Linked DNA regions of Homo sapiens: all the other regions are linked to region 3. The links are contacts of gene promoters, found by promoter capture Hi-C in blood cells and fetal thymus (Javierre and others, 2016). All regions are on one chromosome and are shown on one strand. Each heading gives the region's core, a stretch centred on a gene start or on the middle of the fragment in contact. The rest is flanking DNA. Distances are from core to core; before and after follow the strand shown. Region 1 overlaps ATG10 (autophagy related 10). Region 2 overlaps ATG10 (autophagy related 10). Region 3 holds the start of SSBP2 (single stranded DNA binding protein 2). Region 4 overlaps SSBP2 (single stranded DNA binding protein 2). Region 5 overlaps ATG10 (autophagy related 10). Region 6 overlaps ATG10 (autophagy related 10). Region 7 overlaps ATG10 (autophagy related 10).

The links. The method cuts DNA at HindIII sites, captures the fragments that hold promoters and counts their contacts. A CHiCAGO score of 5 or more calls a contact.
Region 1: a fragment that was not itself captured here is called in contact with the fragment with the promoter of SSBP2 in region 3 in 4 of 17 cell types (M1 macrophages, megakaryocytes, M0 macrophages and 1 more); the score reaches 6.0 in M1 macrophages.
Region 2: a contact is called between a fragment that was not itself captured here and the fragment with the promoter of SSBP2 in region 3, in 2 of 17 cell types (fetal thymus and megakaryocytes). The highest score is 7.5, in fetal thymus.
Region 4: a contact is called between a fragment that was not itself captured here and the fragment with the promoter of SSBP2 in region 3, in 8 of 17 cell types (fetal thymus, total CD4 T cells, erythroblasts and 5 more). The highest score is 9.2, in fetal thymus.
Region 5: a contact is called between a fragment that was not itself captured here and the fragment with the promoter of SSBP2 in region 3, in 2 of 17 cell types (megakaryocytes and fetal thymus). The highest score is 5.7, in megakaryocytes.
Region 6: a contact is called between a fragment that was not itself captured here and the fragment with the promoter of SSBP2 in region 3, in 1 of 17 cell types (megakaryocytes). The highest score is 5.2, in megakaryocytes.
Region 7: a fragment that was not itself captured here is called in contact with the fragment with the promoter of SSBP2 in region 3 in 1 of 17 cell types (neutrophils); the score reaches 5.3 in neutrophils.

The regions. Positions count from the first base shown.
Region 1 is chr5:82,169,998-82,173,467 of GRCh38, reverse strand. All of the region lies in intron 4 of ATG10 (autophagy related 10), which reads right to left. Among named protein-coding and RNA genes, the nearest start is that of RPS23, 110 kb to the left of the region's middle. The HindIII fragment of the contact is 7,884 bases long and covers 1-3,470 here.
Region 2 is chr5:82,227,660-82,230,890 of GRCh38, reverse strand. The region is part of intron 5 of ATG10 (autophagy related 10); the gene reads right to left. Among named protein-coding and RNA genes, the nearest start is that of RPS23, 49 kb to the left of the region's middle. The HindIII fragment of the contact is 1,110 bases long and covers 1,298-2,407 here.
Region 3 is chr5:81,749,587-81,752,691 of GRCh38, reverse strand. It overlaps SSBP2 (single stranded DNA binding protein 2), which reads left to right and starts at 1,595. Exons shown (of 17, transcript NM_001256732.3): 1 at 1,595-1,711. The coding sequence starts at 1,650. RefSeq lists silencers at 694-1,043, 1,314-1,643, 1,814-1,863, 2,304-2,353, 2,574-2,733. The HindIII fragment of the contact is 16,084 bases long and covers 1-3,105 here.
Region 4 is chr5:81,490,873-81,494,126 of GRCh38, reverse strand. The region is part of intron 5 of SSBP2 (single stranded DNA binding protein 2); the gene reads left to right. Among named protein-coding and RNA genes, the nearest start is that of ACOT12, 98 kb to the right of the region's middle. The HindIII fragment of the contact is 3,239 bases long and covers 1-3,094 here.
Region 5 is chr5:82,106,213-82,109,384 of GRCh38, reverse strand. All of the region lies in intron 3 of ATG10 (autophagy related 10), which reads right to left. Among named protein-coding and RNA genes, the nearest start is that of ATG10, 140 kb to the right of the region's middle. The HindIII fragment of the contact is 672 bases long and covers 1,198-1,869 here.
Region 6 is chr5:82,021,268-82,024,394 of GRCh38, reverse strand. All of the region lies in intron 2 of ATG10 (autophagy related 10), which reads right to left. Among named protein-coding and RNA genes, the nearest start is that of ATG10, 51 kb to the right of the region's middle. RefSeq lists an enhancer at 1-1,332. The HindIII fragment of the contact is 5,505 bases long and covers 1-3,127 here.
Region 7 is chr5:82,063,204-82,066,504 of GRCh38, reverse strand. The region is part of intron 3 of ATG10 (autophagy related 10); the gene reads right to left. Among named protein-coding and RNA genes, the nearest start is that of ATG10, 93 kb to the right of the region's middle. The HindIII fragment of the contact is 8,136 bases long and covers 1-3,301 here.

The DNA of each region.
Region 1 (3,470 bases), core at 935-3,434, 420 kb before region 3:
CAATGACAAAAGAAGAAGAGACATTAGGTGAAAAATAGAATAATTAAAAAGTACAATCTTTAGCAACTGCCAGTAGCATTTAATTTGACATTTTCATATAAAATCTCTCAATTGAATAATAACCCACATGTCAAGTAATCTATATATTACTCAAAATGTGCAGCTTTCTAAATTAAATTTCTCAGGGCTATTAGTTTTCATGAGCCAATAACAGCATGAGATATTTCACCAGCACTATCTAACTCTAGTGCAAGCACGCTGGAGTCACCTTTATCCTTATTGTGCACGGTTTCACTAACATTTTTTAACTCCTAAAATGAAGACTAGAGAGAGTACAAATAATTCAGAGTAAGTTTAAGAATAATGTTCTGAATGTGGCCATTAGAAATAAAAAGGAAAGAGTAGATTTTTCACAACAAAAAATGTCATTATTCAATATATTGTCTTCAACATAGCTTTGAAAGATATAAAAATTCATGTCATACTCCACAGTAAGGCAGAGATGAAGCTCCACCAAAGGGGAAAATTCATTTTTGCTTCAGTGAGAAAATTATATTGTGATATGAAATGAGTGCAATTGTTCACGTACATTCATTTCAGCTACTATACTGGCTAATTCTGTAACTTTTATTTATTCCTATAAGCATTTTAGGACTTTGTATCTTTATTGGGCTCAAGAAATCTAAATGAAATTCCAAAAATATGAACTATGGCAACTTTCTTTTGCTTGCATATAACATCAATTAATTAATTTAACCTATATGGTTCTTAAATTTCAGTTATTTGAATGAAAGTGTCATGTAGTGAAAAATGGGCTATAGAGTTTAAGTCCCAACTCTACAGTTTTCTATGTACCCTTGAATAAATAATTTAACCCCTCTGAGCAGTTTTTGTCTTCACATGAGGGTAATAATAGTTACTACCTTCTAATTTTATTGTGAAGATCTAGATATATAATTTGGCTAGCATGATTGAAAGGCACTAAGTGTCAAGCACCATTTCCAATATAAGCTCAGGATCCTCGAAACTCTGAAATCAGTATTATTGCTAACTCAATTTTTTTTTCAGATGATGAAAGAAAAGAAATGGCAAAGTTCAATAACTTGCCCAAGGTCATAAGGTTAGTAAGCAGCAGAGCTAGGAATCAGAACTAAAGTTTTCTGACTCTAGACCATGCGCTTTTCACCACTACATTATATGTGTTTCTGTGCACAGGAGTTCTTTGTAAAGTGTAAAGTTATACATGCATATTAGTTGTATTGTTCTTGTTGCTACTATTACTAGTGGTCCCCATCAACACTGCCTAACCTATGAGTATCTGGAATTTTCCCTTTCATGATTTTCTTCCCAAGCCTGGCTCACCCTTTCCCCTATCACTCATGGACAAATCCCATGTCCAGCCAAGGCCTCTCTTGATCACCACAGCTCAAGGTAGTCATAGCTCTCCAAGCCCTGGTGCCTTTTACCTCTCTTATGGTCCTTAACATATTCTACTTGTTATAGTGAATTTCAGACCTATCTTGTGTTTCCCTCACTAGACTGTAAGCTCCTTGATGGTATTATCCATCTCTGATTTCCTTTATTTATCTCAGCATTTCAGAAACATATCCATGCCTTATGTATAAATATTTTCAAATGAATGAACAGATGAAAGTTCAACATTATTTCTAGAGTAATTAGCACATTCTAAGAATAATGGCTGAATGATCATAATAAAATTAATTGATTAAATGTTTTACATTTATATTTTTAAAAACCCTCATACTCACATAAATCCATAGCATTAAGCAGATGCAGCTATAGCAGATATGTGATTTCTCAGTATCCAAACACACTTCCAATTTGGGAGATAAATTCCAAAATAAGTAGGAGGCAGAGCCCCATTTCTACCACCAAAGCTAAAGGGAGGCAGATATTCCCTTGCCTTGTCATTCTACCACCTTCAGTTGACTCTACGATCTACCCTTCAATAAGCCTTTTCCTGCTTATCAAATTATTTGCAACCAGGGGTACACATCTAATATAGCACAAATAGATGGTTTAAAAGTCTTGCTTAATAAATATTTTCAAAATTATCAGCTTAAAATGTTATATATTTGTCTAGCAGTCTTGAATAGAAAAAATAGATGTTAACATGGTTTTTAATTACATGAGAAAGTTTATGTGTGTTACAATCTATTTTTATGAACATATGCCCAATAGCACATAAAGGAGCAATTATGAATCATCTTAAACTGTCCACACACAGTGTTAAGAAACATGGAATAACGCAAGTGATGTTATACCCTTCCATTTAAATTAAGTGAATCACTTAACCTAGTAAAGGACATATAAGACCATTTTGATGAACCTCTGAATCAGAAAATGGTCCCAAGGGAAGCAACATTGGGTCCACAAGATACCTGAGACATCAGCCCTGTGATACCACTATTGATCCAGAAATCTGAGAACCATACTACCAGCTGGATATCTACAGCCTAAGGTCTGCTGGTTCTAAAGCAGAAGACACTCTGTTTTCTTTTTTTTTTCCCTGAGACAGAGTCTCGCTCTGTCACTGCAGTGGCGTGATCTCGGCTCACTGCAAGCTCCGCCTCCAGGGTTCAAGCGATTTTCCACCCCACCCTCCCAAGTAGCTGGGAGTACAGGCGCTTGCTACCATGCCTAGCTATTTTTTTTTGTATTTTAGTAGAGATGGGGTTTCACCATGTTGGCCAGGCTGGTCTCGAACTCTTGACCTCAGGTGATCTGCCAGCCTCGGCCTCCCAAAGTGCTGGGATTACAGGTGTGAGCCACCGCGCCCTGCCAACACTCTATTTTCAATCCTATCCAAAGTATTCTGAGGTTTTGATCCCAAACTCTTGAGATTAATACTCAGTAATTTGTATTCCTGGCTTTCCTCAAACATTATCCCCACATCATGGACCTATTACTACTATATTACTCTATACCAGCACTTTGAATACCCTTACTTCCACCATCCAACCTGGTCTCCTTCTCATGGAATGCAGTCTCTGCCTTCTCAAAACAGCACCTAACATATAGACTCGAATACTGCTTTGATGACTTTGAAGGAGCAGAAAAACAATACATGAGTTACAAGTTAGGCAGTGATTTGTTTCAGCATATTTTAAAAAGAGGCTAATGAGATTTGTGTTGTGCACACAGTAGGCACTCATGTATATTTTAATAGGTATTTCAAACAGGGCTCATTGTGCCAATAGTAAGCAAAGAGATGTTTTTTCCATATGGCACAAACATTCACCTAAGAAAGCTAAAATACAGTCGCTTACAGGTTAATAAAATTAATGTACTTACCTTGTTATTTTCTCTCCCAAGCCTCTGGGTCCAACTAAAATCTCTTGCCTTTTGTATATGTGGCTAAGCAATATTCTGCTTAGAATAAACCTTTTGGCTAACTAGCTATCTCTGTAGTTTTACTTCCCATTTCTTTAGCACCTTTCCTTTAGTAC
Region 2 (3,231 bases), core at 603-3,102, 480 kb before region 3:
ATATATAATTTTCCATATTTTACATAGTCCTTATAACTTTCTTTTAATTACATAATTTTCCATCTAGCTAATATATCATAATGGATATTTACATCATTCCATGGTTAGACATTTAGATTTTCCAGTTTTATACTTTTTTTTTTTTTTTTTTTTTTTTTGAGACGGAGTCTCACTCTGTTGCCCAGGCTGGAATGCAGTGGTGCGATCTCAGCTCACTGCAACTTCTGCCTCCCCGGTTCAAGCGATTCTCTTGCCTCAGCCTCCTGAGTAGCTGGGACTACAGGAGCGTGCCACCACACCTGGCTAAGTTTTTGTATTTTTAGTAGAGATGGGGTTTCACCATGTTAGCCAGGATGGTTTCCATCTCTTGACCTCGTGATCCACCCGCCTCGGCATCCCAAAGTGCTGGGATTACAGGCGTGAGCCACCGTGCCCAGCCAGTTTATACTATTATAAATTATGCATATATACTATATATTCCTCTTTATGAATTATTTCCTTATAATAAAAATTTTGGAATGAATAAAAACAGTGGGAATATTTGTATTTCGTATTTGTTGATTTGTATGATCACATTTCCCTCCAAAAAGATGAAACTACATTATTGCCACCAATACAAACTGCTTTATTAGTCCCTCACTGTTTTAAGTAGCCCTGTCTTAATGTGAGAACTAACCCTTCCTTTGAAATATTTCACAAAAACATCACATAGACTCCATAAAGACTTTAGTCAACTAGCTTAGCCCTTATGCTTCTTTCAACTTGGCTGTAGGCTGCAACCTTCAGGAATTAGTGACCTGATGCAAGAGAACATGCAAAGGGTTAGGGCTCGGGATGGGGTTGGGCAACTTTCTTGAATGTTTATAACCACATTATGTCCTTGGATAATGCCTTTTCAGATTGACCAGTGCAGGGATCAGTAACTTTTCAAAAATAGTTTGCCAAGGCTCCAATCTGTATACGAACAGGCCTGCATTATATGACGTGAGTTTCCAATGAGCTGGTACAGCCATCCTTTGGTATTCACAGGGAATGGTTCCAGGACCCCCCTACCTCCCTGCCACAGATAGCAAAACCCATGGATGTTCAAGTCCCTTATGTAAAGTGGCTAGTATAGTTGGCCCTCCATGTCCACAGATATGGACACCTGCAGACATGGAGGACTGACTATTCCTTGGTCTTCACGGGCCATTCAAATAAGAAGTCACATTAACTAAAGCTCACAACTTACTCAGATTCTGTGCCAGTTTGTATAAAATATGGCTATAGCATTAACACACCACTTCTCTAAAAAGCTTTATTTTCCTTGGCTAGGGTCTGAAAAATGATATTAAGTGTAAAAACCAGCACACAAAATTATATATTAATTACAGTTTACAATTGTGGATACACTGACATGAAACTTGCCCAATAAGAAAGTGGCATCCAAACTTTCAACTTGAAGCATGGCATGAAATAAAATTTAAATCAAAATTGTGCCTGTCAAACTCATATAATTAGCAGTAAACACACCTTAGGGCATGCACATGTTCTTCAACACTTATTTTTTAAAGTAGAAAATAGTTCCTTTCTAGCATGTTCCTCCTAAGAGGCTCATTTATTCTTTCCTGTCTTAGCCAGTGCTCCTCCAGTACTGTAACAGCTGCCATCTCCAGCATGAAGTAAAATTGTCTCAGAGCATGCATCCAAGCCATCCGGCCTCTCCATTTCTGCCTCAGGAGAGGGGTCCACTCAGAAATAGCTCGTTTCACAAAAACTTCAAGGGACAAATCCAGCATCCCTACAAAGGCAAGGGATCTCTCCTAGGAATTACTCATCAAATTGGGAGTACATGTGTTTTTTATACACTGACCTTCTCTGTGAAACACTGAAGATATTTCAGTTAAGTTAGTCCACACAAGTCAAATCGACTTTCTGCCACGGGAACCTCAGGCTTCTATAATTTACCTACTTTCTCAACTTGATAAGGAAGGTATTGTTCTTATAGCTGGTACTCAGGAAAATATAAATTATAAAGATAATTTTATGCCTCTACTTTCACTTATGTCCTTACTCCTGTAAATCAGTGTTTTATTCCAGTGTCTCTGAACTTGTTTGCATCACCTAAATTTAAAAAACATCTATCTATATACCCCAGGTACACAAGTTCACCTCTAAAGGTTTTCATTAAATAGTTGCAAATTATATGATTTCCAATGCACGGTACATATTGACAATTTTAAATACAACTATTAATATTACATCATTATCTTAAATGCATTCAATTGAAAATAAACATCCATCATCATTCACTTAAAAAATATATGCAATACAATTGGACATTTTATATATTTCTCCTTGAATTCATATCTCTATTGTGCTCCTCTCAAAGAACTTCATCCTAATGTATATTTTATGCTTAAAAGCTTTTTATTGATCATCTTCTCATAACCAAAAAAATAGAGAGACAAAGGAGTTTATGTTTTAAAATTTCCTGTGGCCATTTTGTTCTATGTTAACTTAGATGTCTGATTGAGTTGTCATAATCATTGCTAGTATTCAATTGATCAAAACAACATAAATATATTATAAAATTTGATAAGCAAATATATAAAGTAAAATATTTTTGGAAATCATGAGTTAATGGCATTATATAGTATTGATACATACTTTTAATAGTACATACATACTTTTTTTTTTTTTTGAGATGGTCCCACTCTGTTGCCCAGGCTGCAGTGCAGTGGTACAGTCATGGCTCCTTACTGCAGCCCTGACCTCTCAGGCTCAAGCGATCCTCCCACCTCAGCTTCCCGAGTAGCTGGGACTACAGGTTCATGCCATCCATGCCCAGCTAATTTTTGTATTTTTTGCAGAGGTGGGGTTTCTCTATATTGCCCAGGCTGGTCTTGAACTCCTGGACTCAAGCAATCCACCTACCTTGGTATCTCAAAGTGCTGGGATTACAGGCATAAGCCACTGCACCCAGCCCATACATACTTTTTATATAGTACATGCTTTTATTCATATGTGTATGAATCAATTTAATCCCCACAATAACCTATTATTATAATCCCCATTTTATAGATGTAGAAACTAAGATAGAGTAAGCATAAATGACTAATCCAGGTCACAGAGCTAGCAAACTGAAGAACCTGGATCTATGCACAGACCTCTGACACAACAGCCCAAGTACTTAACCACTACCCTATATATCCTGACTTAAAAACATGAATTGGGGCCAGGAGTGGTGGC
Region 3 (3,105 bases), core at 346-2,845:
GCGTTTTTGATTCTCGACCTCTCACTTTTGCTAACTGCCCTTCCTTAATCATCTGTTGATGTTTTATTCCTATCACTTCTGTCAATGCTCACACCCATTTCTTTCCTTTCCATCTATCTGTATATCTCCATATGCATTTTATGATCCTCCTACTAAATGCTTAAAGCTGTGTGTGTGTGGAATAGAACGGTACCTTCCTCCACGCGAATCCGATTTCCCTCTCCTCCCATAGCTACTTCTTGTCTATTCATCCTTTCCAGATGTCGCCCTGTCCCACCCCATCTGTCCCCTTCTTCCCCGTGTGAAGCCCATCTTCTTTCTAACCCCATTTGCACCCGTCTGATTTTACAGTCAAGGACTTCAATAAGATAAATGATGCAGAGTTCTACTGGGAACCAGATTGTGTGTGTTTCTGAAACTTTTGCGCGTTTACTGAAATGGGATTAGGGATTTGGATACAGAAACATTCTCGGGCAGCCTTTCAGCCCTGGCACAGCTTTGTACACCTTGGAGCGCGCTGGGGCCTATTCTAACGGGCAAGGACAGGGAAGTCTTTCAAGACCTTTTCTGGCCTTTTCCACTCCAGGGGTCAGGATGAATAGGCATCACTGACCCAAACTGTTAAACCAGGCCGGGTGGGGAAGCCTGGGGCCCTCTTCTGCGGCAGATCTGGCGGGGTGTCCAGGGCGCCGCGGGGCTCCGTGCAAGAAGGGGTTGGGGCAGGGGCCGCTGCGGCCGCAGGAGTCACCGGGCCTCCTCGGGAGGTCCGCTCACCTCTTACAGAGGAGGCCGACCCCAGGCCGGGTGCTCCCCTGGGGCGCAGGGCGCGGCCCCGGGCGCCGCCACCGCAGCGGCGCCGAGGGCCGGAGGTGCAGCCTTTCCCCAGGAGAGAAGGCGAGTCGCTGTCGGTCGCTCAGCCAGAAGGTCGAGGGAACCGCGCGGGTGTCCCTCGCCAGCCGGCCCTCTGGGAACAGGGCGGGGGCGACACCCCAGGGAGTAGGGCTGAGGACCGCAAAAATCAATCGTGGGTACCGGCGCGGGGTCACGCATAGGAGAGGAGCGGGAGAGGGGCTGGTGGGGGCCCCAGGGCGGCTGAGGCCGTGGCTCTGTCGTGGACTCGGCGGGCGCCCCGAAGTCTGGGGCCGCCACGGCTCCAGCTCCGCCGGCTCCGGCCGGAGACTCCAGGCCGCAGTTTCTCCTCCTCCCGGCGCCTTCTCTCCAGTGAGGAGCTGAGCGCGGGCGGCGCGGGGGGAGGGGTGGCGGCGGAGAGAACAGCCAGTTGTTTAAAATCCTTCTAGAGCAGTTTCTAATTCCCCCCTTGCGCCCGGGTTCGGAGGGGGGAGGGGGAAGGAGAGCGGGTGGAGGGAGGAGAGCGGAGAGGGAAGGCGGGAGGGAGGGAGTCGGGGAGGGAGGGAAGGAGGGAGGAGACTGCCGCTGAGGCTTAGCCGCCACCGCGCGCTTCGGAAGGCCAGAGGGAGGGGGAGGCCTGTCAGTCTCGCGCGTTGCCTGGGCGAAGGGGGCGGAGCTTTGGCGTGGGGCGGCCAATAGTGGGGGTGGCTGCGTGGGTCGCCATGGGGACGGGGCTGTTCCCGGGGAGGCTGTGATGGGTTGACAGGTGCGTGACAGTGGGAGCTGCTCTCGGCACAAGCATGTACGGCAAAGGCAAGAGTAACAGCAGCGCCGTCCCGTCCGACAGCCAGGCCCGGGAGAAGTAAGTGTCTCCGCTTCTCACCCACCTCCGCCTTCACACGCGCGCACACTCACGCACGCACTCGCACACTCTGGGAGACACAGACACTCTCCGCCCGGGGAGCGCCGGGGGTGGGCTGGCAGGGGGAGGGGTGCCGCGATGGGGGCGTGTGGTGCGGGGAGCTGCGCTTTCCCGGGAGGTGCGGGCGCTGGGCGGGCGGCCGCAGGGGGCTGTCGGCGGGAGGGACCGGGTGTGTTGAGGGGCGGCGGTGGTGCTGGTGGCGAGGATGGAAACTTGTTTGGGTGATTGAGGGAAATAACCCGCGGGTTCACCTTCCAAAGTAACTTTAGAGCTGGGGTCCGGGGCTCCGGGGACCTGGGGAGCCGCCGGGGGTGGCGGGAGGGGCAGCTGCGTGGAGGAAGGCGCGCAGTGGGAATGTGGGTGTTTGGCGGGCCGGCCGGGGTCGGGGCCGGGGTCGGGGCGGGCAGCGCGGGGAGCGCGGCGGCGGGGGCCTGGGCGCTGGGGCTTAGGGCCGCGAGCGCGGGGCGAGGCGAGGCGAGGGCGGCGGTGCCGGGCGCGCGGCGGGCGGAAGCCGGGCGTGGAGCGGCCGAGCGGGGCCCCGCGGGGCGCGGAGACGCGCGCGGGGCGCGGAGGGCGTGTGCGGGTTGGGCGTCCGGGCTTTCCTGGGCCAGCTACGGACGCGGCGCCCGCAGTCCCCCGCGCATCGCGGGGCTGGGGCTGGGGCTGGGGCGGGGGCGGGGGCGGGTGGGCGCCGGAGACGCCGCCGAAGTTTGGGAGTCGGAGAGGGACCGAGTTCCCGGGGAGCTAAAGTGTGTTGGCGAGGAGCGGGATCCGCTGGAGGAGGCTGGCGTTTCTGCCTCTCGCAGCGGACCCAACTCCGCGGCGGCGGCTGGCGAACTTTTTGTGAGGCTGGCAGCCCCCGAGCGGCGGGAGGGGCGGGCCCGGCGGGGCGGTGGTCGGGGGCGCGCGGAGGGGAGTTGTGGGAGCCGCCGGGGGCGCCCGAGGAGGGCAGCTGTGGCGGGGAGGGCCAGTGGTCCGAAAAGGGGTTTGTGGGAGGGGAGAAGCGTTCAGGTGGGAAGGAGCCGCTTGGTTACAGTTGTGGGGAGATACAGGTGTTAACTTCGGTGGGAGCCCAAGAGGCGGCTGGCGAGAACAGAGCCCCTCCCGGCCCGGGATGCCACTGTCACGGCACACTGCAAAGCAAAGCGGTTTGCTGCTATTCTTGTGTACTTGTAACGGTGATTTGGTTGTTACTAAAAATGAGAACGAATAGTGACTGTGATCACTGAGGAAGAACCCCCCCCTTTTTTTTTTAAACTGTGCAACAGATCAGTGATTCCCAGTAACCACTTAAACTCTGAGGGTCAGAGTTATCCTTGTCGTTGAACGCACCC
Region 4 (3,254 bases), core at 226-2,725, 260 kb after region 3:
TGGGTTTTCATTGATACTCGCCATTTGGTGAAGAGAACATTCTATTTGTCTCAGATTAGTGGACTGATGTAGAAAAGAATTTTTATAGAAATTGTTTCTCCTATTAATTACAAGACTGTGAACCTTGAAAAATCCTAATCAGCGGGTAGTCATTTTTATCTTCCTTGTTCACTGATATATCTAGCCACTTAGAACAGTGCCTTTGTGGGTGTTTAATAAATATTTGATGAGCAGGACATGATGGTTCATACCTGTAATTCCAGCACTTTGGGAAGTCAAGGCAGGATAATCACTTGAGCCCAGGAGTTTGAGACCAGCCTGGGCAGCAGAGCGAGCACCCATCTCTACAATTTTATTTTATTTTTTTTTTTGAGATGGAGTCTCACCCTGCCACCCAGGCTGGAATGCAATGGCATGGTCTTGGCTCACTGCAACCCCGGCCTCCCAGGTTCAAGCAATTCTCCTGCCTCAGCCTCCCAAGTAGCTGGGACTACAGGCACATGCCACCACATCTGGCTAATTTTTTGTATTTTTTACTAGAGATAGGGTTTCACTATGTTGGCCAGGATGGCCTTGAACTGCTGACGTCATGATCCGCCCACCTTGGCCTCCCAAAGTGTTGGGATTACAGGTGTGAGTCACCACGTCCGGCCTGCAATTTTTTTTTTTAATACCCAGGTGTGGTGTTGTGTACCACACCTGTAGTCCCAGCTACTCAGGAGGCTGAGGTGGAAGGATTACTTGAGCCTGGGAGGTTGAGGCTGCAGGGAGCCATGATCATGGCACTGCACTCCAGCCTGGACAATGGAGCAAGACCCTGTTAATCTATCTATCTATCTATCTATCTATCTATCTATCTATCTATCTATCTATCTGTTTTGTTCATTCAAATATATATATGTTTTTGATATATATATGTTTTTGAATATATATATATGTTTTTGAATGAACAAATTTCTACCATACTTTCTCATTGTTAAGTGTAGCTTTTTTATTCTCCTAATTGACCTTTAATCTGACACAACAAAGAGGACTGTTGTGTTGTGGGATATTTAATCTTTAGGTTTTTCTTTTTCTCTATGAAGCATGGTAATAATTTTCTTTAGCTCCTTGATGAAAATGGTTTGTGCCTTAGGAACATATGCCTTTATCCCCACTCCCTGCCTCACCCACACACACTTCAAATATTTATAGCTATCTACATTATACTAATCTTTATATTTAAATGTAATACTAAAAATAATTAACACAGAATCATTGGTTCCTTATTTTAAAAGGGACTTTAGAAGTCACCTGGTTTAACTCTCTCATTTTAAGGTTGAGAAAACTAAAGCCCTGAAAGATGATTAGCTCAGGGACACTGCTAATTAATAGAGGTACAGAAACTAAAACCCAGGTCTTTGACTCCCAGTCAAATGTTATTTCCACACACATTACAAATAATCCTTTCTGGGGAAGGCTTTTTTCCAGTTAAAACACTGATTCACCATCATGATACCTTCAAACAAGTATTTGTTACTCAAACTTAAAAAAAAAAAAGAATGTTGCCCCAAACATAAAGAGTAAACACATTTTAAGAGCCAAACACTCTTTTCTGCCTGTTTTTTTGTTTCGTTTTGTTTTGAGAAAGAGTCTTGCTCTGTCACCCAGGCTGAAGTGCAGTGGCGTGATCTCCGTTCACTGCAACCTCCGCCTCCTGGGTTCAAGCGATTCTCCTCCCTCAGCCTCCCAAGTAGCTGGGATTACAGGCGTGTGCCACCAAGCCCAGCTAATTTTTTGTATTTTTAGTAGAGATGGGGTTTCGTCATGTTGCCCAGGCTGGTCTCAAACTCCTGGCCTCAAGTGGTCTGCCCACCTCGGCCTCCCAAAGTGCTGGGATTACAGGCATGAGCCACCTCGCCCAGCCCAAAGACTCTTGAAGAACCTATTCTTCTCAGATTGCTAAAGCAGGGAATACTGACATGTCTGTCAATAGATATAATTTATATTAGCATAATCTCTTGGACAGATTAGCATTTTACCATAAAATAATTAAAATTGGGGTTAACATTTTGAATTTCATTTGAAAGCAAATTGACTTCTGAATAGTGAAGTACAGATACTAGTGCAGATTATTCTCAGTTGCTAGTATGCAAACGCTTTTAGATTCTGTTGCTGTGTCTACGCAAGCTAATTCACTAGGCAGTTGAGGACTTAGGTGGTTATCTAGATAACATAAGGGAAGGATCAATCTGAATACTAAGCCATGTTATAACAGCACTAATTTTGTGTTAAAAATACTTTAACCATAGTAATCTTATATTTCAGGTAAAAGTAGTAGTTTTTAGCTATATTAACCGATTGTTTTGTCTTTTTGTGCTTTAATTGTGTGAAGATTAGAGTTTATAAGTGGTTTTCTATTTCTTTTTTTTTGGCCTCCAAAAAAACATACAAATTTGAACTTAAAGGAGGACATATAAGAGTAATAAATTGACTAAAAACAGAATCTGTCTCTTTCTCTTGATCTCATTTTGTAGTAACCTGCAGGTTCCCAGCTAGCACATACACTGACCCTCCCTCACAGCAGCTCCTTCACAGGGCCTCAGTCAGGTAGGAGGGTATAGACAGTTCCATTAACATACACTCATTCACAATGCCATCCATTTGGGGAAAAAAAATTCTCCTTTTACATATACCACTAAATAAACACTGTATCATCTTCTTACATTCAGATCAACACGCAGATCTCAAGTGTTCTTCTGTTTCAAGTGAGGCACTTCTAAATATTTATCTCAACATTTGGTATTTAGTAATATTTTTCACATAATTTTACCTTGTATTCTACTTCAAAGTGGTTGTATTACAGACAAAAATTATTAGTAACCTATTTTTATGTCTCCATGTTTCAAAAACTAAATTGATACTATATTTTGAATTAATGACTATGTCATAAAACATCATTTTGTAAAAGACAGCCATTATAAAACCAATGACACAATATTTATTAAATTTTTTAAATTAGTCCAGAATTAAAAAGACAGCTTCATAGGTGAAATTAGGTGATTTATAAAGGAAAGAGAAAATAACAGAGAGAGTGTGAATATTAGAATAAGCTTCTAGTTGACAGTACATAACTAACTTATCCAATTTATGGTAGAGTTTCAAAATGATAAATGAGAGACAACTTTAATCAAATATGTGAAAACTAAACGTTTTTAAAATCAACTTTGTTAAAATTGGAAAATCTACTTAAGTTTTATCAGCTGGAGGTGACA
Region 5 (3,172 bases), core at 284-2,783, 360 kb before region 3:
TCTACTTTGTATTTTAGTGCCCAACTAAAGCTCTGTGCATATTTAGGAAGTCTGGTCTCCTGAGTGAACAAATCTAATGACCTCTCCTCAGTTCCCATACTGTCCCCTACAACAGTTGATTCTGCGATGGCACCCTCTTTTATACTCTGGGCAAAGGCCTTGCACACAGCAAGAATGCAAATATTTGCTGATTGAGGAACAAGGCATTCCCCTGACCACTCTCATCTCTGTCAGAGTTTGTGCAGGCTCCTTCTGTCTCTTATTTCTTACCTTAGCCTCCTATATGTAGTCTTCCACCAAGGTTAGGCTCTCATTTCATTTCTCTTCTTAGTCTATACACTTTCTCTGAAATATATCATCGATTCTCAAGTTGTAGCTCTGACTTTTCTTCGGCTCCAAATCCAAAATTTAAAGTATGTGCTACATATTTCTATAAGATTGCCTTCAGGATCTCAAATCTGACATGCCAAAATGGAATTATCTTCCCCCCTATGCCTGTTTCCCATCCCACTCCCCTAGCTGTTCCTTCCCTTACATCTATGGAGGCAATGGCAACACCATTCCTGCTTCCTGGTCACATAGTCACATAGACTGAAAATTTGAGAGCTATCTTCAACTCCTTTTTCTGCCTTGTGTTTAAATATTTTATACCTTTGTAATGTCTCTGATGCACATTCCATCCTTCCTATCAACACTGACATCATATAATGCAAAAACAGCATAACATGATAAAAAGAATATCAGGCTTAGACTCAAACAACCTAGAATTTGAGTACCACCTCAGCTCTGACTATGCTATGAGACCTCATATACATATTACTTGACATTTTCAATATATATCTTCAAATCATAGGATTATCTTGAGGGATATATACACACACATATACATGAGATATATACACATGTTATACATACATATATACACATATATACATATATGATATGTACATAAATATTATATAAGAGCAGTATTATTGCATATACTGTGTGTATATATATGCACATATATATAGGTGTCTAGGGTTCTCTGTAGATACACAAATATGTATGCATGTGTATATATATGTATACTCGCAAATACAAATGAAAGGTATTACTACAACCATTACTCTTATTATTATCCACGATGATATAATGTCTGACCTTACCTAGTATAAAAATGTCTAATCTTTAATCTCTCAGTTCTCCAGGCAAGCTTTCACACTGAAACAAGTATTATTTAATCAAAACATTATTTGTTTCCTCGAAATGGTGTGCAGTTTGCTCTCCTCTGACAACAGAATAAACTCAAAAGCACTTAGCACGGATTTCAAGGTGCTCCATTATCTAACTCTACCTTAGCATTCTGACCTCACCTCCCAGTACATAACCCCTCTATCAACCAGGTTCTATCTAGCCTCAGGCCTAGAATTGTCTTGCTCTAAGTATACCCTGCATTCATGCTGCTCCATTCAGTCTAGAATTTCCATTTTTGGAAACCTCTTATTCAAAGTCCAATTCAAATGTCACCTTCTCCATAATATCCCTATTTGTTTTTTATTAAGAATTAGCCCATATTCTACCTTTATTATCCTTCTGCATTGTAAACAGAGGATATTTACATTTCTTTCTCTCCAACTAAATTATAAATTATTGAAGAATAGAGACTGTGGAGTATTCACCTTTGACTCTCCATCACGCATCAAGTCTTATAAACAGTAAGCATTTACTGAATGTTTATAGAATTAAATTGCATAATAAAGCCCCTCAAGTCTTTTAATTTCAGAGAAGTTAAAACTATACAGTAAAAATGTAAAATCAACAAATTATTCATTGTAGACATTTTTTAATGCAAGTGAAAGAAAATATTTTTAAAATACATTGTAAGCTTTAAGGTAAACAAAAATATTGTTTGGTGCTCCCTCTGCTGGCTTTGCAGAAGCAACTTAAGAATGTTGAACAATAACACCACAAAGAAGTAAACATCAATTCAGCTTAGCTGCTCCCTTTATCTCCTGCAAACACCCAGAGTAGAAACTTTCCACTGAGTTCTTTTGGAAATAATCCTACATGTAAAAAGGTTTGTCTATGAAATTTGTTTACAGGGACAAAACTGATCTTAAAATTTTGCTGATAATAATCCTGTCAGAATTCTTGTTTATACCTTTGTTTTCTAACTAAACCACCGACTTTATGTATAAACAGTTTTAATTTTTAGCTGAAACTGTTGAGAAGCAAAGTAGAATAAGATCTTTTTGCTTTCTATTTAATCTATATATATATTTTTAAAATTGATTAGGAACATAAGAGGTTAAATTCTTCTTGTGTTCCTAAACAGAGTTATTCTGAGTACCCTGAAGGCATTTAATTCCAAAACAGGAAGCCAGAGAGAGGAACACTTGGTTACACTAATGTTATGCAGATCTTTTGGAACATATTTTCCTAAACACTTGCTGAAAGAACCTTTTCTATACTGCATGCTATCACATGAAGTTGGAGAAGGGTCCCACGGATACCACAGTACACTGACTGCTCAAATTGCCCCTTATTACTTCTCTATTTTTCTCCACTTATCTTACTTTAAAATGGCCATCTGCTTGCTCATAGAAGGGGGTAGGAAAATCAGGTGGGGGTCAGGGAATGTTTATTCATACACTATAGTTTAATTGTTTTGCATAAATGTGTATAAGAGCTATGATATAGCTTATGATAGTCCATTGTTAAGAAAATGATACCATAGTAAGATTAACCTGAGACCAGCAGAGGCTGTTAAAGATTGGTGTCCTTTCTAATAAATTCTTGTTTTATATGCTTTTAGCTCTACTATAAAACCTCTGTAATCTAAAACATGTTAAATGAGATCTCACCCTGGTAAATGAAACAAAGAACAATGGTAAACCACAGGCAAGTGGAAAAGGCAGTGGATTCATGCAGTTCAGAGGTGTGCATGCTGGAGCTACCTCTGTTACTGAGCAAATCACATAACACTGTAGGGCTCTATTGCCCAACCTCTCAAATACGGCTTCATACCACTAGAGATGAGCAAGCTGCTATGATCCCGTGACTAAACAAGTGAACTAGAAAGGTCCACTTTAAGTTACTGAGGTAAAAGATGGTAAAATAACACCAAGGTGGGTATATTTTTCATACGCTGTTTGATCTTATACACCATTTCAATGCCATTTTTAAAAAT
Region 6 (3,127 bases), core at 143-2,642, 270 kb before region 3:
CATTTCTGTACTGATGTCCTTGCACTGTTACCAGTGTAGGCCACGCTTTGAGTAATGCTGCCTTAGAATACAGTCTCTCATCCCAACCCAAATATCTACCTCTACCCTGTCAAGAGAGTCGAACAATCCATCTCGGAAAGAAGCTGGAAGACAGAATAGTATACTCTATGGTTAGTGAAAGAGCCACTTGGGATACATACACATCTGCCATCTATACACTTCTAATGCATAGAAGCTGATCCTTTTTCATAAACTACTCACCAGTCTAACACACTTTGAGGTTTATGAGAGTAATAGGGCTGCAGTCTCATATATGTCTTTTACTTTGAAACCTCTCAGTTTTTTAGGTTAGTTAAAACCCCTATTCTGGTTCTTGGTCATTTACATAATAAACAGCCATTTAAATGCACATGCACTACACCCTGGTGAAGTCAGCAGGAGGTGCACATGAAGATCTGAGACCAAACTTCTCTGTATGTGTGCAAAGCATGTCTCCATTGTGCAATCGCTCTACAAATAAGAAATAAACACTGGGTTTATAAGACTTGGAAGAAAAGGTTTACGGCTTTGACTGTTTTCCATTACTGGAAAATTTACATGCTGAAAAGTAGCAAAAACCAGTGCAAAAGAATAAACAGCGGGTGCACTTCAAGGGCTTGTTTCTTTCAAGAATCAGGAGCAAAACTGGGTTTTATTAGCTGTTTCATTAAGTTTTACTTTGAAGAAAAACAAACAGTGAAAGCATATGTGCAACATCTGATGAAAAAGGATTTTATTCCAAACAGTCTCTGTACAAAACTCATTAATGTAACATTAAATGTGAAGACTTGTCTAGCAATTTAAGAATAATTTTACTCATTTTAGTTTATTTATAATTTCTGACACAGTTTATTTAATGTATTCTAAACTTTAAATCACCATGTGTACTAAACTAATATATTAAATCTGTCTTTTCAATGACATTTTGCAATAAATATCTACAGCATCTGTTAAAGACAATTACTATATAAATCTGTATCAAATTTAACACCTAAAGTAGGATAATGCAGCTGGATATTGATAACTTGAAACACTCATGATTACATGTGTTTTTAAAAAATACAAGCAAACTTAAAAAAATCTAAATATATGTGCTACTATAATCTAGTATCTCAAATCTAAGCGCCTAATATAATACACAAAGTATTAAATAAAAGTATTCTTTTTTCCTTAGAACAAATTTAGTCATGCTGGATAGTCATCATATTCCCACTGGAAGAATCTGCCCAATTGCTACTTTCTTGTTTCAATTCTACACATTGATAAGAGGCAACTAAAGTTTGCTGGGGCAGGGGGGGAGCATTGAGAAGAAAAATAAATATATATACATACATATATATATATATATTTTATGTGTGTGTATATATACATATTCCAGATCCATTGTGTTGGCTACATAATGGTGGTATGGAATAGATAAAACTTCAGCTTCTAACTTAGTTAATGAATATTCAAATATTAAACTATAGGTTAGGAGTTAAGACAATAATCTTTGGAGGCAGACACACCTTGGTTCCAGTCTTGACCCTGCCTCGAACATAAATACTATGTAACCTGGACAAATCATTTACTTTCTCTAAGCCTATATGCCTGTCTAAAGTAGAAATAATAATGGCTAACTCACAGAGATATTGTGGGGTTAAATTAAATGAGATATATGTAAATAACAGCACAGTTAATGGTGCTTTGAAAATGGACTTTCCTCTTTAAAAAAAAAAAAAAAAAAGAGTACTGGCTGGGCATGGTGATTCACACCTGTAATCCCAGCACTTTGGGATGCTGAGGCAGGAGGATCACCTCATGTCAGGAGCTGACCAGCCTGGGCAACATGGTGAAACTTCATCTCTACTCAAAATACAAAAACTAGACGGGCATTGTGGGTACCTGTAATCCCAGCTACTCGGGAGGCTGAGGCAGGAGAATTGCTTGAACCTGGGAGGTGGAGGCTGCAGTGAGCTGAAATCATGCCACTGCACTCTAGCCTGGGTGACAGAGCGAGACTCCGTCTCAAAAAAAAAAAAAAAAGTACTCATTTTAATCAAAGTAATACACCACATATTTTAAAAACTAAACATGCATTAAAATACGTATATACATCCAGTCTTCTGTATCAGCAAGCTCTGCATCCACGGATTCAACCAACCTCAGATAAAATTTTTTTTTTTTTGAGACGGAGTATTGCTCTGTCACCCAGGCTGGAGTGCAGTGGCGCAATCTCGGCTCACTGCAACCTCCACCTCCCAGGTTCAAGTAATTCTCCTGCCTCAGCCTCCCGAGCAGCTGGGATTACAGGCATGCGCCACCACGCCCAGCTAATTTTTTTTTTTTTTTTTGAGACAGCGTCTCACTCTGTCGCCCAGGCTGGAGTGTAATGGCGTGATCTCGGTTCACTGCAACCTCTGCCTCCTGAGTTCAAGCGATTCTCCTGCCTCAGCCTCCTGAGTAGCTGGGACTACAGGTGCCCGCCACCACGCCTGGCTAATTTTTATATTTTTAATAGAGACTGGGTCTCAACATGTTGGCCAGGATGGTCTCAATCTCTTGACCTTGTGATCCGCCCGCCTCGGCCTCCCAAAGTGCTGGGATTACAGGCGTGAGCCACTGTGCCCAGCCACGCCCAGCTAATTTTGTATTTTTAGTAGAGACAGGGTTTCACCATGTTGGCCAGGCTGGTCTCAAACTCCTGACCTCATGATCCACCCGCCCCAGCTTCCCAAAGTGCTGGGATTACAGGTTTGAGCCACCACGCCCGGCTGATAAAATATTTTTAAACTACATCTGCTTTGAACATGTACAGACTTTTTTTCTTGTCATTATTCCCTAAACAATACAGTATAACAATTATTTACATAGCATTTACACTGTATCAGGTATTGTAAGTAATCTAGAGATGATTTAAAGTATACAGGAGGATGTGCATGGGTTATATGCAACTACTAAACCATTTTATATCAGGGACTTTAGTATCTGCAGATTTTGGTATGGGAAGGTAGTCCTGGATCCAATCCCCCCAGGGATACTGAGGGATGACTATATAATAAAAGTCAGCAGCCCCTCTTTCACCCCTCCACATACCCTGGTCAGCCTA
Region 7 (3,301 bases), core at 90-2,589, 310 kb before region 3:
TTCTTCCACTAGTATATTATTGCCATTTTTATGACTCTATCATTTTCATAGTTTTTAAAAATGTAATCTGAAGGTGCAACCTGAGGCTCTGAAGTAATAAGGATAGTAAATGGATAAATAAAATATGCTTGGTACCCACCTCTGATACCTCTGCAAAAGGATGAGGAACTACAGTAATCGAACTTCAAGCAGAACACAAACTTCAATAATATAAAAATTACTGACCAACTTAAAGTCAGTGTGTATAGGTAGCTGAATTGTGTGAATCAAAAGACAAAATCTAGGTTATCTCTATTCTATGGAAAATGACTCAAAACTTCATAAATGAAGACATTAGAGACAAAAAAATACAAAGCAATGTTGGCTAGAACACGAGTTACATAGGAAATACTTTCAGATATTTCCCCTTTCTGAGCATTCATTAATAATTTTTACTACTTATTATTAAAAATCAGTATCTAAGTTAACTAGATACTGTTTCCTTTTACTGAGTGGATGAGTGCTGGACACGATTTTTTTAAAAAAAACTTACACCTTATTTCTCAACTCTAGTCTCTCTAGTCTTCATTAGCCAGTAAGTTAATTTAGAACCTTAAAAAAAAAACTTAAGTTTAGCAGCTATTTTGCAATAATATATCCACAAAAATTTTAAGAGTTAATAATGGTTAATTTTCGTCAAAAATTGTCTAATTGAAGTATAGGGCTTGGTTCCCACTTCTATTTGTAAATTATCGTTTCATGTATAGAAATAAGGCTTCAATAAGGACAATATGCTCCTGTTTATTAAAGTAGATCAATTGTTAAATCACGTTTTTCACTACTATTAAATGATATCTCAATTTCTCTAAGAAAAGTCTTCAATTAAATACAAAAAAAATCATAAATTGATAAAGTGATATGGTAGTATCAATACCCATTTATGAAAATAAGTGTCACATAAAATAAGATATCCCAAGCCAGCATCGATTATGTTTGCTTCTGTTGAAATTATTCATTTATATTTTTAGGATTTTTTTTTTTTTTGAGACAATGTCTTGCTCTCTCGCCCAGGCTGGAGTGCAGTGGTGCAATCTCGGCTCACTACAACCTCCGCCTCCTGGGTTCAAGCAATTCTCCTGCCTCAGCCTCCCTAGGATTACAGGCACCTGCCACCACGCCCAGCTAATTTTTGTATTTTTTTAGTAGAGATGGTGTTTCACCATGTTGGCCAGGCTGGTCTCAAACTCACAGCCTCAAGTGATCCGCCCCGACTCGGCCTCCCAAAGTGCTGGGATTACAGGCGTGAGTCACTGCGCCCGGCCCTATATTTAGAGGATTTTAAATTGATGCAACATACTTCTGTTGGTCACTGGTAAAGAAAATATCTTGTTCAAAAACTGCATCTCACTTTCATCTCACAAATTCAGAAATGTCACATGCAAAATCATACTACCTACTCTCAATAAATGTCTTAATTAATATGACTAACTTTTAAGAACTACTGTTTCCCAAAGCCAGAACTTAACAAAAGCCAGAACATAATCACTTCCTAGCTATTGTCCTTAGGCAAGTTTAACCTTTGTGTCATGTCTCAGTTTCCTCATAATAAAGTGAAGAGAATAAAGATATCAATATCATGAGTTGAAATGAATTAATATATGCAAATCACTTAGTGCAGTACCTATAGTTAGTCCTCCATAAACTTAGGCTGCTGTCTTTATTATAATATTGTTATTGTTATTATTATTATAACTGTTTTTATCCACCTTCACTAATCTTATCCATTTATTTGCCATATTAATATTAATATCTATTGTCATAAGAGTTTTCTGAAGATTAAATAAGATAATAAAGCAACTAGTAAGATGAACTGGTATGTAATAGAAGTAATTGACCATGATAAGTATTATTTTGGGGGAATTAAAATGTTAATACATGAAGGCATTAATGCTGGCATAAATGTGTGTTGAAAGAGAACCTGTTAAAGTCATTGATAAAAAAAATTAATCTAATATTTCATCCAATAAAAACATCGGGAGCTAAGCAAATAGTACTCTCTAACTCCACAAAAACCCTTCCCTCAAGTTTGATATCCATTCACATATCTACATATCTTTGGTATGGTTGTTCAACTATCTACAAATACAACTAATTTAGAAGAAAAATGTAAAAAAAAAAAAATTTAGACTTTTGATCATCATATATTTAGGATCAAAAGATGATGTATTTTACCTAAACCCTGTTTTGGAATCCCAAGGACCATAGTAAAATAAGAATTTATCACTCTTCAGTGCAGAGTTGAAGTATCTTTTGATCAGCGATGGTTGAAATGAAAAATAATGTTGTTTTATGCAGTTGCTTACAAGATTATAAAACTTATTAATTATCACAAAACTACCAATAATTTTTCATGATAGATAATCTAGTCTGTAAAATCACTTACAGCTAAATTTGATAATTTGTACAAATTAGGATTATTCTTTGAGTTCATCTATCATGAGCACAATCAATCCCTTTCATGAAATTTGCTTATTCAATTTTTTTAACTTTTCAGTTCAGGGTACATGTTCAGGTTTGTTACACAGGTAAATTTGTGTCATGGGAGTCTGTTGTGCAGATTATTTCATCACCCAGATATTAAGCCTATTACCCATTAGTTATTTTTCTTGATCCTCTCCCTCTTTTGACCCTCTACCCTCTGATAGGTCTCAGTTTTTAAAATGTTAGCAGTTCAGCCGGGCATGGTGGCTCAACGCCTGTAATCCCAGCACTTTGGGAGGCCAAGGTGGGCAGATCACCTCAGATCAGGAGTTCGAGACCAGCCTGGCCAACATGGTGAAATCCCGTCTCTACAAAAATACAAAAATTAGCCAGGCATGATGATGGGTGCCTGTAATCCCAGCTACTCGGGAGGCTGAGGCGGGAGAATCACCTGAACCTGGGAGGCAGAGGTTGCAGTGAGCCAAGATCACACCACTGCAGTCCAGCCTGGGCAACAGAGTGAGACTCTATTTCAAAAAAAAAAAAAAAATTGTTAGCAGTTCATTGCATTTTTTAAACAAACAGTAGATGGCTGTTCCTTATCTAATTACATTCCACTTAAATTGTCATAGTATCTTCTACTGGTATCACAAATGTACTATCTATTAAGATAAAACATTAATTCTGAGGTATTTTGTTTTTGGTTTTTTTGTTTTTATTTTGAGACAGAGTCTTGTTCTGTTGCCCATATTAGATAGAGCGCAGTGCTGTGATCATAGCTCACTGTAACCTCAAACACCCAGGCTTATGCAATCCGTCTGTCCCAGCCTCCAGAGTAGCT